Linked DNA regions of Homo sapiens: regions 1 and 2 are each linked to region 3. The links are contacts of gene promoters, found by promoter capture Hi-C in blood cells and fetal thymus (Javierre and others, 2016). All regions are on one chromosome and are shown on one strand. Each heading gives the region's core, a stretch centred on a gene start or on the middle of the fragment in contact. The rest is flanking DNA. Distances are from core to core; before and after follow the strand shown.

Region 1 (4,341 bases), core at 108-2,607, 1.4 Mb after region 3:
AAGGATTGCTTAAGCCCAGGAATTTAAGACCATCACTGGCAACACAGCAAGATCTCGTCTCTACAAAAAAAAAAAAAAAAAAATTAGCTAGGTGTGGTGGCCTGCACCTGTGGTCCCAGCTACTTGGGGAAGCTGAGGCGGGAGGTCGAGGCTGCAGTGAGCCATGGTCATGCCACTGCACTCCAGCCTGGGTGACAAAGCGATACCTTAGCTCAAAAAACAACCCAAACAAACCTGGGAATGGACTGAACAGTCTCCATTTCAAGATTTCCTCCTTCCATTGGAATTAACCTGTTGGTTGCTTGTACTGGCATGTGGCAACCAGTCTTAGCCCAGTTTTAATAGATCCCTGTTTGGTGTTACTCAACAGAGAAGACCACTCGGCCCTCAGCCACCGAATAAGTTTAAGAAACAGAGGTGTGGCATGCTTCATTCTACAGGTAGGGAGGCTGAGGCTGGGGAGCCGCCCCTGGCTATCCCTGGAAACCCCTCTACCCCACAGGAATCGTCCCAGCCATCTCTTTAGCGTAAAGGTGAGGAACAAATCTCAGCCACGATCCAAAGAGGGGCGCCACCCCTGGCTGTCCCTGGAAACCCCCCTACACCACAAGAATCGTCCCAGCCACCTCTTTAGCGTAAAGGTTAGGAAGAAATCTCAGCCACGATCCAAAGAAAGCTTGGTATTTTTAGCACCAAGGCCAGAAGGAGCGTGTCCTTACTCCTTGGTTTACAAAGAAATAAAAACCTTTTCCCCATCCTTCTTTTGATTGAAGACTACCCCCGCCCCCAGGCTCCAAAGCCGGGCAGGAACGCCTCTTATCTCCACCACAGCCATTTTCCTAATCCTTCGCCCGCTCTCCACGGTCATCCCGTGTATCCCTCGAGACGCCGCCTCCCACAGCTCGTGCTTCTCCCAGGTTCGGCTCCGACAAGGCCAGAGCGGCGTCTGCGCAGCGCAACGGCTCAGAGCGCTCCCGGCGGCTACAAGTGCCCGGCCCCGGGCCAGGCCCGGCCTGCGCCGCGCACCCACTGGGAGGGCGCGGACCGGGGCCGCCCCAAGCCTCCGGCACCGCCCAGAGCGGGACAAAGGGGCGGGCCGGCGACCCGGCCTCGCGGTCCCCGGTGCCGCGCGGGCCGGGAGGCGGGGTGCGGTGGGGGAGGGGCGAGGCGGCTGGGGGAGGGGCGGGGCCAGGGCGGGCCCAGGCGCCCGGGGCCGCACCGGGCGGCGCAGGGAAGCGGCGCCCCTTCCTCGGCAGACGGCAGGCGCCGCGCCTCCGGCCCCGCCCCTCCGCGCCCCTCCGCGCCCCGCCCCCGCCGCTCGGACGGCCCGAGTCGCGCCCTCCCGCCCCGCGCCGCGGAACTTGCTCTAACTTCCTCGGCCGAGCCGGGCCGCGCCGCCGCTGCCGCCGCCGCGCGCGGGTGAGTAGAGCGCGGAGACCTGGCTGGGGCGTCGGGCCCTGCCCCTTTCTTTGTCTGAGGCCGACTTCCCCGAGCGTTCTCCGGGGGCGAGGGCTGCTCCTTAGGTCCCTGTTTGGCCCCTCAGCCTCCCTCCCCGCCTGCCCAGGAGCGGCCCCGCGGGCGGCGCTGGCTTTGTCTGCCAGGATTGCTCGCTAGAGGTTGGAGGCCTCCGCCGGGACCCCGCTGAGCCGAACTCCGGCGCCGCGCGGACGAGAGCCGCGGCGGGCCCGGGGCCGGCACTCCTGGTTCGGTAGCCCTCGCCCCATCAGCGCGCCCCGGCGAGTGCGCGCCCGTGCCGGGCGGGGTGAGGGCGACGGGAGCCTGGACGGCCGCTGCTGCTCGGGGCTCTGCTTCTCGTCCCCAGCAGCGAGCTCGGGGATGGGCCACCCTTTCGGCTCAGTCACCCACCCTCGGCTCCCAGGAGATCGGGTCCGGGGTGGGGGTGGGCGTAGGCCGGGGCGGGCCGCCCCTTCCTCCTGCCCCGCCGTGGTTGTGCTCAGTCTCCCACGCCGCCGTGGGTCCCACTCTGCCCGGCTTGGGTTTGGGACGGCCGGAGTTTGAGTAGGCGGTGACCCAGCTTCTCCGCGTTAGTCGTGTGGGGTTGTGTTTGGGAGCAAAGCCTGACCCCTGACCTAGCCGGAGTTCTGGTAGAGTGAGGTTTGTGGCTGCGGACTGTGCTTGTCCCGGGCCGCTGCTGCTTCTCCTCCACCCCCAGGGGTGGGGTGCGGGTGGGTAGGAAGTGCCTGTGTGAGGGTGTGTGGAGGGACTTTGGCCCTGGGACCGCAGGAGCACTTGTCTTGGGGACTTAAAGTTGATCTCCGGCGAGAAACAGTCCGTGCTAGGGGGAGTCGGGGGAAGTCGTGGGCCCGGGTACTGGCCTGGGGCTGGGCGCAGAGCGGTGGTGAGTGCGGCGGTGTCACACACTCGTTGGCTGTGCTGGCGCTGCTATCCGGGAGGTCAGGCGGTGCTGGGCGGCTGTGCAGAGCATTGTATTGGAGCCTCTGCAGGTGTGCTCTTGGCAGTGGTCTGCTCTCCAGGGGATCTTCCTCCCTTCCGAGAGGGAGTTGCTCTTGGGCTAGTGAGAGAGTGGCCTGCCAAATCCTCAAAAGTAGCCTTCCCCTTGCCCCTTGACCTTGAAGTCCAGAAGCAGTTAGTGCCTGCTGAGTGCTCCGGCCACCCTTCTCTATTTGTGAAGGGAAACCTGGGGACAGGCCATCGGAGCACCCCTATGTCCTTGCCACATTTCAGCTAGCCGAGTGGTTGGTGGGGGCGGCCGTCTTTCCAGGGATCTTCCTGGGCCCTGGCACCCCCAGAATGAAGCCCAGACTCCACCATAATGGCCCTGTATGCCCTTCTATCCCCTTAGCTGCTGGTGTGATCATAGCCTCAAATTGCTGGGCTCAAGTGATCCTCCCACCTCAGCCTCCCAAAGCACAGGGATTACAGGTGTGAGCCACCACGCGCAGTCTGATCCCACTCCGATCCCTAACGTTATAGTGACAGGCCCTGGAAACCCAGGGCCACCAGATGTATTTTCCCTTTCCTTCTCATTGTGTTGCACCCCAACTTCAGTTGGAGACTCTGGATATATCCATCCCCACATCTCTGAACTCCACTGCTTGGGCCACCTAATGTCATCCTCAGTTTAGTTAACAAAGCATGGTTGAGATTTCTGTGGGGTGCGAGGCATTGTTGCAGGCACTATTCCAAGTCTGGAAAGTCCCTCACCAGCTATGAACTTGGTGTGGTCTTAGAACCCAGGCTGGACATGGCATAGGTGCTCAGTAGTGTTTATTGATCTGAGCTTGATCTCAGCGTAGCAGGATCATTTAGGGAGACGGGGTTGTGGGGGGGGTCTGAGCCCATGGGTGCTTCTGAAGGTTTGTGGCTGCCCCAGGAAGAAAGGGCATGGAGCTGCAGAATGGTTGGCTGCCCAGGGAATTGTCCCCTTCACCAGCTGGGCAGCTGTGCTAGTCTCTGAGGACTGGTGAAGGTCCTTCTCATGTAGGAAGTGGCAGTATGAAGTGGGAGAGGAGATGGCTCTGCCCTGAAGGTTGTGGCGGCAGTGAAGTGAAGTTCCCATGGAGGCCGGGGAGCAGGAAAGCCCTGGGTTCTGGAACTATTTCCTGAGGCCTCACTCTATGCCACCATGTGCTCAGGAATTTGACCCATTTAACTTCAACTGAGGTAGAATTCCTTTTAGCAGTGCCTGCAAAGTGGCATTGTGCCAGGCCTGGGAAACCTTTGCTGGCTTAAAATTTAGTGAAGGACAAGATTATTTCATAGTGATACTAATGTGAGTTTATTGAGACTTACACCCTAGAAGTTTGACTTGTAATAACTCATTTAATCCTTGAAAACAGCTGTGATGGCTGGGCGTGATGGCTCATGCCTGTAATCCCAGCACTTTGGGAGGCCGAGGTGGGTGGATCACCTGAGGTCAGGAGTTCAAGACCAGCCTGACCAACACGGTGAAACCCTGTCTCTACGAAAAATACAAAATTAGCTGGGCGTGGTGGCACATGCCTATAATCCCAGCTACTTGGGAGGCTGAGGCAGGAGAATTGCTTCAATCTGGGAGGTGGAGGTTGCAGTGAGCTGAGATCGCGCCGTTGCACTCCAGCCTGGGCAACAAGAATGAAACTCCATCTCAAAAAACAAAAAACAAAAAGCAAAACAACCGTGATGTCAACAGCTCCATTTTACAGATGAGGAAACTGTGGTCCCGAGAGGTCACAGAGTAACTTGCTTGAAGTCTCAATATGAGCTGGGTTTTCTCATTTCTTTTTTTTTGATACTGAGTCTCACTCTATTGCCCAGGCTGGAGTGCAGTGGCGTGATCTCGGCTCACTGCAACCTCCGCCTCCTGGGTTCAAGTGATTC
Region 2 (4,183 bases), core at 452-2,951, 1.0 Mb before region 3:
TCCCGGACTTGAGCAGTCTGCTTGTCTAAGCCTTCCAAAGTGCTGGGATTACAGGTGTGAGCCACTGTGCCCAGCCTGTTACCTCATTTAAAACAAATTTTGCACATCTGAACAGCCTAAAATTGTAATGTGATAAGTGGGGTAGGAGTGGGGTGGGCGTAGTGGGATTTTGAATCAATGAAGGCCCTTGTTCTTGTGGCATCCTTTTGCAGTGATTCCCTGCCAGGCAAGGCAGTAAACCTGGGATTGCCTGCCCAGGACTGTAATCACATTGATGTCCCAGCGCCATGGAGTATGTAATGAATGAACTGCCAGCAGAACTACTCACTAAGAACTACTCCCTGTTTGTGAGGATTGTACCTGTTGAGAGAAGTTGCAAAAAGAATTAGTCAAAAGAATTAGTCAAAATTTGTCCTCTGACCTAGGTCTGAAGGACATTTAACACATTGATTGTTCTCTTCATCCAGCCTTTGAGCCCTATGAGTTAGTGCCCTTAGCCTTTGAGTCCCACAGGTATGGAGGAGCTACCTGTGGGGACCTGAGCCATCACTATTCCTGCTTCAAGTTACACTGGTGCCTCTCACTAGCACTGCTCTGAAAAGCCAGCTGGAAAAATCAATGCATTTGAGTACATAAATTCTTTGGCTCCAAAGAAATGCCATAGCAATATTGCTTTTAATTCAGTTTTGTTTAGATGTTAGAATTGGTATTTGTTCTTGCTTTTTGGTTGCGATGGAGTTATATACTAAGTTACTTATACTAAGGCATTAGTAGTCTCATATCTGAGGAGCAATTGTATTTTTAGTTCAGCTAAATTAATGCCTCTTTTTAAATACTAACTTGTACTACTTTTGTGGCTGTGAATGGTATCTTTTATTGAACTGAGGCAGCTTTTAAAAGACTTGCCTGATCATTTAGAGCACTCCCATTGAGGTTAAATTAGACTTGAATCTGTAATGATTCTCGTAACTGTTCCTGGTGTGTGTCCAGCACAATGTTGCTGGGCAGAGCAGAGGGGCAGAGGCTCAGGTATGTACTTCATTGACAAGTGGGCAAGGCCATCCTGGGTACCACATTGGCTTAATGATCTCTTCATTGTGAAGTCCGGCTACCTCGTTTGCATAAGAACTACAGTAATCAGGCAAGGCATTGTCAGAATTGGGAGGAATAAAATCAGTGAGTCTGGAAGGAGTGCTCTGTATACAATTGCAAAGAACAAAATGGTCATCTTTAAGGTACCTGATTGCATGCACTTAAATGCAGATTATTTTGGAGTTTGAAAAGGGACTATTAATGAAATCTTTCTTTTCCCTCCTTTCTCTTTTTCCCTTCCCCGCCACTGATTCAGTGAGCTGGAGATTGGATCACAGGTATAATTCAAGCTTTTCATGTAGTCATGTAGATCACTAGACTCCTTGGTGTACTGACGTAGCAATTTAAAAGCAGATCATGTGTAGTACATCTAGAAGTAGATTTACAAATATTCTGAAGAGTTGTAACCTTTTAAAATACTAACAGTGACATGGTTTTGTTTTTAAGGTTTAGCAATATTTAGCCCATTATTTTTGTTTTATTCTTAACTTGAATGTTTGTAAATTTTATTTCTTGATGCTTTCATTGTGTTATGATAACATCAAAATAACTTGATATTCTAGGTTACTAATAATTGTTGTGCATGAGTGTTACTACTTTTGGAATTGAAGACTTTAAAGAATTTTAAAGGCAGTTGTTGACTAAACTTCTTTCTCTTGATTCACAGCCGAAGGAGTAAAGGTGCTGCAATGATGTTAGCTGTGGCCACTGTGGATTTTTCGCAAGAACATTAATAAACTAAAAACTTCATGTGTCTGGTTGTTTGAAATGTATTTGCAGTTTCCTGGGACTGCTAGGAGGTTAGTCTGCTGATTTCAGTTGCTGTCCAAGTTCACATGCTCCATGAAGCATTCAGTGAAAACTTAATGTCATGGGGTGGTGTTTGTTTGCTGCTTGGTTTATAGCTTAGGTGGGTTCATCTGGGAGTCAAGCTTGTAAATGCTGTGTTAAGAACCATGTCCGCGGTGGACGCAGTGTAGTGGCTCACAGTCATCAGCACTTTTGGGAGGTTTGGGTGGGATGATTACACTTAAGCCCAGGAGCTCGAGGCTACAGTGAGGTGTTTTTTTTTTCGAGACAGGGTCTAGCTTTGTTACCTAGGCTGGTCTTGATTGAACTCGGGCTCAAGCGATCCTCCTACCTTGGCCACATAAAGTACTGGCATGAGCGACCACGTCTGGCTTAGAGTCTAAAAAGTACCATGTCTGGATAAACTGGAGAAATCTCAGGAAGCAGTAGAGAGCTGAAAGACTTGGTTGGGCATGAAGGGGACTCAGGAAAAGCAATACCGTGAAGGCAGAAGGGTTGAGGTTGCAGGAAGGAAGGGTAGTGGAATGTTTTGGAGAAAAGATGGTCACAGCCCCTGCATGGAGCACCTACAGACAGGAGGGCAGGGCTGAGAAGAGTTAAGTCATGGGGCTGGGCCTGCTGGCCAGGGGGTGGTTGGAGTTCTGTTTTCATATCTACAGAGGCTGTGTACTTCGGTTTGTGGGGCCTCTGGCCCTGTAGGTTCTCTTGCTAAGGAATCTGCTACTACTTTGCTAGGACCAGGAAATGGCTTACTAGTACAGAACGTGTGGAAGAATGGGGTCTTTGATGTGATTTGACATTTTTTGATGAACAGTGCATACCAGGCTGAAGGTAATGCTAGGGGCAGCAAAGGTTGGGGTTTGAGATGCAGTTTCCTGTGACTGAGCTGGAGTGTGGAAGCAGAGAAGGCACCCTGTGAGCAGCTTGCAGAGGCAAGGTGGTGAGGATCCTGACAGTGCTGCAGGGATGGGATGGGATGGGATGGGACAGGACGTGGAGCTGGGGGTGGTTGCTAAGTTGATGCAGGGAGAGTGGAAGGAAGCAATTGAGAACTGAAGGGTAGGAAATAGTTTCTGATGTGAAGAAAAAGGGCATAGCTGCAGAGAGCCTGAATGATTGAAGGTTGGCATCAAAGTCACGAAGTGGGGAGGCTTTTCTGTTCAGCTGTGCTCAGGGCAGAAGTTGTAGTCTTTCAGCCAGTAGCCTTGGGAAGGGAGGTGGGATGAAACTCAGGCTTGGCCTATTTTTCCAGAGGATCCACTTGGGTTGTGATATTATAGAAAATGTGGCAGTCTTGCTGTGAGCCTTGTTAGGCATAACATTTGGAAACTTGGCAAATTTTACGTAAAGGTCTGGATTTCCAGCCTCTTGAAATACCAGAAGCAGCAGTAGTAGCCCACCTTCCTGTTTGATAACAATTGGCAGGGCTCCAGGCTGGCTGCATCTGTTGGGACAGGTATTCTCTGGTCTCCACAGCCTTTGCTCCTACGGCCAGCTAACACCCTCCTCTACCTGCCCTCTGGTCTTCTGTCCCTGCTGCCTGCTTCTCTTCCATCTAGTCCATCCAAGTGTTTTTTGGGGAAGTCACCTGGTACCTTGTTAGGGTTAATTTGTCTTTTAAATTGGGCTCCCAAGGGTATCTGCTAGCTACCCTGGCTCACAAGGCTATTTTGAGGCTGAGGATGTAACAACTGTGAAAACAGTTTGGAAACTAGTGCTAAGCAATTGTTTGTCAGGAAGCAGGGACTTGTGGGAACTCAAACTGTGGACAGATTCAGCACATTGTAGGCCCTCACAGTAACCAGGCTACCCTGTGCTGTCAGCAGGCTTTGGAAGAGCCTCCATAAAATGCAAACTTGACTTTACTAAGCTGAATCAATATTGAGGGAGCACATCCCTTCCTTCAGCTTGTCACTGATGGGAAGCTGTGGCTTAGAGAGAGCAGGGATCTTTGAAGAGTGATGAGAAACTCAGCTAGAGGTGGTTCTGGGAAGGTACCTGCAGTGAATATTTGGGGTGCTGCTTTTTAGCTTTTCCTAGCACCACAACCATGAGTTCTGTTTGTAGCTGGATGTGCCTATGTAATCAGGCAGCTTTCAACTCTGCACTCTTCCTTTCTTCCCTGGCAAGTTGCTTATTTTAGGCTGCCCTTAAAGACAGCATCTTACATGGTGCTCTCATGGAGCCGAAACAGGTGCTGTCCTAAACTCTGAACAACGATCTCCATTAATCTGCGCGCGCACACACATACACACATATTTTTTTTGAGATGGAGTCTCAC
Region 3 (4,061 bases), core at 323-2,822:
GAAGACCCAGGACCCTGGTGGGCTTTCTGACTTGCTGCCATGCTTGCACAGAAGGGGAGGGTTGAAATGATCCCTGGTTCCATGCTACTAAGTTGAGCCTACTTGGCTCCTCTGCCCTCTGCAGCCACTTCCTGGGTTTCAGATGTAAATACTGGTGGGAGAGTAGGGGGCTGGGATGTGGGGTAGGGGGTGGAGCTTCTGGACAGGAGACTTTGAACATGAGTGGTCACCTCCGAGGTCACCTGCATCCCCCAATTCCTGGAAGTGGGCAGGCCCTGGATACTTATTGAGGAATCTGGACAGAAAGGTTGAGAGGGCTGGGCGTCCAGACCTAGCTGGTCATTAAGGCAACAAGAACTGGTCTAATTGTGGGCTGGGCTGGATTATCACATCCCAAATCCTTAAATACCCAGAAACTCTCTTTTGGGATTTTGGACCTGGGTATGGGGTGGCTGCTGCCACTGCTGCAATGCTGTGGATTGCTGGGAGTGGGACAGCTGTGGCTGCAGCCACCGTTCTGCAAGCTTAATTCCTACCTTCGGAGGTTTCTCAGGTGGCCCTGGTGTACCTACCTGTGAACTTAGGCCACCCACAGGCTGAGGAGGGGCTCAATCACACAGCAATGTGCTGGGACCATGACTCCCTGGTGTCCCTAGAGGTCTGGAAGTGCTTTCATACCACCCACCCTCTCCAGGGATGCTCAGCTGCCACCTACAGGGAGGGCGGGGGTGGAAGAGCAGCAGTCATCACAGTCCATGTCCATGTGACAGGTAGGAAGACTGAGGCCCCAAAGGAGTGCCTTTTCTTGCACCCAATGGCATAGGGAGGCAGAATTTCCCCTGGGGAAAATAAAATAACGCCCCCACTCCGCCGCCTGCGCCCCCACACACCCCGTCCCCCACGCCCGGGTGGACCTAAGCAGCAGTTTTCTGAGCTTTCAGGAATTCCAGACTGAGTTCACTGGCTGTGAGACTAGCGGAGCCTTGAGAATGAATTCAAAGCTGGCAAATTCATTTTGCCTCCTCTCCCTCGGTGGTGGAAGGAGTGATCTCTCCGGCTCTGAAGGAGTTCAAGCCGAGGTCAGCGAAGCCCTCAGAAGGATGTTCTAAAATGGGGGTGGGGGGTAGTGCTCCGGCCTGCTTCCCCGGTTGGCCCAAGGTCCGCGCTGATCACCGCCCAAGAGGCCCAGGAGACCCGCAAATCTGTGCTGCACGTCCGCACTCCCATGCGGGCCTCGTCAATCAGGAGGCGGCTCCGGCCAGGCCTGGACATCTTCGGCCCGCCCCAGGCCCCGGGGGAGACCCCCGCCTGGGCCGCCTCCGGGTGCCCGCCCCCCGGCGGTGTCATTGTTCTCTGACGTCACGCCTCAGCCCCGCCCCTCTCCCCCCACCCTTCCTCCCCCACCTCCGGCTCCCCGCGCCCCCGACCCTGCAGCCTCCGAAGCCCCGGCCGTGCAAGGCTCCCCCCGCAGCCCGGCCGGGGCTGCGCCCCCTTGCGCTCTCCCCAACTTGCCTTTGTTATTCCAGCTCCCTTCCTCGCCTCGCCTCCGACACGGTGGCAGCCTGCAAAACGTGGAGCGCGGAGTCACTGCCACACCTGGAATCCGAAGCGGGCTCCGCCGGCTCCCGGCCGAAGCCGCCCCCGCCTGCCGGGGAGGGGAGCGCGTGCGTGGGCGGCGCGTGTGTGTCCAAAGAGGGCTGCGCGGGCGCCAATTATGATTGGGACTGGGGGTGCCGAAAATCAGGGGTGGGGGGCCTCGAGGAAGGGGTATGGAAGAGGAAGTGGGAGAGGAGGGCGTGTGTTTGTGTGTGTACGTTAACGTGAGGATTTAGTGCCCAGGGGAACGTTTCGTGTTTTGTTTTTTGATTGTATGTGGGGTTGTGTACAGCGATGTGTGTGTGTAACTGCGTGTCTCTGAGCGTGCCTGCTGTGGCCGTGTAAGCGGGCATCTTTGTGAGGGAAAGTAAGCGAGTGTGTGGGGGCGCGTTTGTGGTTTGGGGGGGAGCGTGTTTGCAATGCTGAGGGAGCGAACGTGTGTGCCGTTCTTGTAGGAGTTTCCGTGAGAGTGGCAGTGGACGTGAGCCAAAGTGGGCGCGTAGTTGGATGCTCTCGGGGGGGGGGGGTGGGTCGGCTAGGGGAACTCCCGCGAGTGGGTGCACCCAACTGCGCCTCGTGAGTACCTTAGCTCTCCGCTATCTCTGGCAGTGCCCAGTCCGGGGCAGAGGGCCAGGCCCCAGCCTAGCAGCTCCCACGCAGCCCGCGCGCACAGCGCCCCGGGCGCTCCGCGCCGGGCCTAGGGGAATCCACGCGTCTCTGGACTGTGCTAGGTGCCGCGGATCAACTGTGGCCACCACACCCCCGCTCCCCCACAGCTGTCGGGGGGCCGCGCTCTAGTCTCCCTCAAAGTCACCCTTGGTGGTGGTGGTCCTCTTCCCACCCCAACCACCAGTCCCCGGGCTGTAGGAACAATTCCAAAGTCAACCCCAGGGGAAGGCTTTGGAGGTCCAGTTACCAACTCGCTTACCCCAATTCGGGTACCTGACAGCGCCCGGGGCCACGAGTGCACTCCAGGCGGGGGCGTGCCAGCGCGGGGCAGGGGCTCTCGGGTGAGCAGTGTGATTTTGGCTTCCTCCCCAAGGTGGTCCCTACCTAGGCTCAGCATTTGTTCCCCTCTCCAAACTTACTGGGGCTGGGGCCTGCAGGGGGGCTGGGGGCTGCAGGGGGCGTCAGGGAGTAGCGGAGGGAGTAGGGCAAGGAGAGAGGTGAGTGGACTGGTGGCGTAGCGGGGAACCAGGAGCCAGGAGAAGAAAAGCTGGGAGAGCGCCGAGACCGAGGAGCGAGGAAGAGAGGAAGAGAAAGGAAAGGAAAGGCGAGGGAGAGAACGAGGAGAGGCGAAAAGGAAAGGGGAAAGAGAGCGCAGAGCGCGAGCCAAGCCGAGCGCCGGCAGCGGCGGCGGCGCGGCGCGGCGCTCCACTCCGGCCTGACTCCGCACCGGCTTTTGCGGGCGGCCGGCGGCGCGGGGCCCTTTGGAAATAGAATAGCCAATGTAATCTGACACTTCAACTTGCTCGGCTCCGGGCGAGTTGATTCACTTACTCACCCCCTAACGCCGAGTTCCTTTTCACTGTCTGTGGACATTAAAAAAGCGAGCGGCGGCGGCGGGCGCCGGGGAGAGCGGGCGGCCGGGCGGCAGGCGGGCGAGCAGCGATCGGGCGGCCGAGCGAGCGAGCAACGCCGGCGCAGCGCGGTGACCCCAGCCCCAGCCGGCGCGGAGCAGGAGCCGGAGCCGAGCGGATCTCGGCGCCCTCGCTGCGCTCCTCCCGGCCCGAGCCTGCCCTACCCGGCGGTGGCGGCGGCGCGTCCTCCAGCGGCGGCAGCGGCGCTCGCAGCGCCCGGTAAGTTTGGGGCCAGAGCCAGGCGCCCGCTGGCTCCGGGGCTACCTCCCGCTCCCCGGGGACTCTCGGGGTGCAAGCGTGGGGATTGGGTGCTGGGGTTTTTCCCTTAAAGTGTCCCCCGGAGCGGGGCGACCGGCCGGCGGCGCGGGCTCCGCTCCGCTCTCCTTGGCGGCCGGGGGCCGAGGCCCGGCGGCCGGCGAGCTCCCGGCTGCGCGGAGCCGGCTTGGGCTGCGCGTGGGGGCCGGGTTTGTCAGGGTGTGCGGGGCGTAAGTGTGGTCGTGCGCGCGCGGACCCGGTGCCCGCCTCCTGCCGGCGCGCCTCCAGCCCTCGCTCCCTACACCCGGGGGCCGGGCAGGACCGGGAATCGGAGGAGGGAGGGAAGGACCGCCTCGGTCTCCTTCGCCTCCTCTGGGGAGATGCGAAGTTGTGCGCCTGTGTGTGTACAGGAACCGCTGGGGAAAGCGCTGGATTTCAGGATGGCAAGGGGTGGTGGTGTTAACTTGTGCGTCTGAATTTCCAGGGAAAACATACACTTTTGTAAATGGGAGGTGGGGGCGCGGTTAAGTTGTTTGTGTGGGAATTGCCCGGGGAAAGCTGGCGCGCGGTACAAACGAGAAACGCGGAGGTGTGTGTGCAGGGTTTTCTCCCAGGGCTTCGCAAGCCAGA

What was found. Contacts are between HindIII fragments. The CHiCAGO score rates a contact against its expected background, and 5 or more counts as called.
Region 1: a contact is called between the fragment with the promoter of TSPAN14 here and the fragment with the promoter of ZMIZ1-AS1 in region 3, in 1 of 17 cell types (non-activated CD4 T cells). The highest score is 5.5, in non-activated CD4 T cells.
Region 2: a fragment that was not itself captured here is called in contact with the fragment with the promoter of ZMIZ1-AS1 in region 3 in 3 of 17 cell types (total CD4 T cells, naive CD8 T cells and total B cells); the score reaches 7.8 in total CD4 T cells.

Annotation. Positions count from the first base shown.
Region 1 is chr10:80,452,953-80,457,293 of GRCh38, forward strand. TSPAN14 (tetraspanin 14) reads left to right here and starts at 1,358. Exons shown (of 9, transcript NM_030927.4): 1 at 1,358-1,419. RefSeq lists enhancers at 714-923, 1,667-2,184, 2,134-2,393, 2,424-2,473 and a silencer at 954-2,003. The HindIII fragment of the contact is 5,289 bases long and covers 675-4,341 here.
Region 2 is chr10:78,038,856-78,043,038 of GRCh38, forward strand. It overlaps RPS24 (ribosomal protein S24), which reads left to right. Exons shown (of 6, transcript NM_033022.4): 5 at 1,349-1,370; 6 at 1,760-1,842. The coding sequence ends at 1,351. Among named protein-coding and RNA genes, the nearest start is that of RPS24, 7.1 kb to the left of the region's middle. RefSeq lists enhancers at 534-1,045, 1,046-1,555, 1,876-2,377, 2,446-2,495, 3,776-3,885. The HindIII fragment of the contact is 642 bases long and covers 1,381-2,022 here.
Region 3 is chr10:79,065,876-79,069,936 of GRCh38, forward strand. It overlaps ZMIZ1-AS1 (ZMIZ1 antisense RNA 1), which reads right to left and starts at 1,573. Exons shown (of 10, transcript NR_024431.2): 1 at 1,513-1,573; 2 at 573-711. ZMIZ1 (zinc finger MIZ-type containing 1) reads left to right here and starts at 3,091. Exons shown (of 25, transcript NM_020338.4): 1 at 3,091-3,395. RefSeq lists silencers at 1,132-1,341, 1,382-1,431, 1,532-1,741, 2,542-2,611, 2,872-3,851, enhancers at 2,005-2,850, 4,052-4,061 and a cis regulatory region at 2,724-3,409. The HindIII fragment of the contact is 3,772 bases long and covers 523-4,061 here.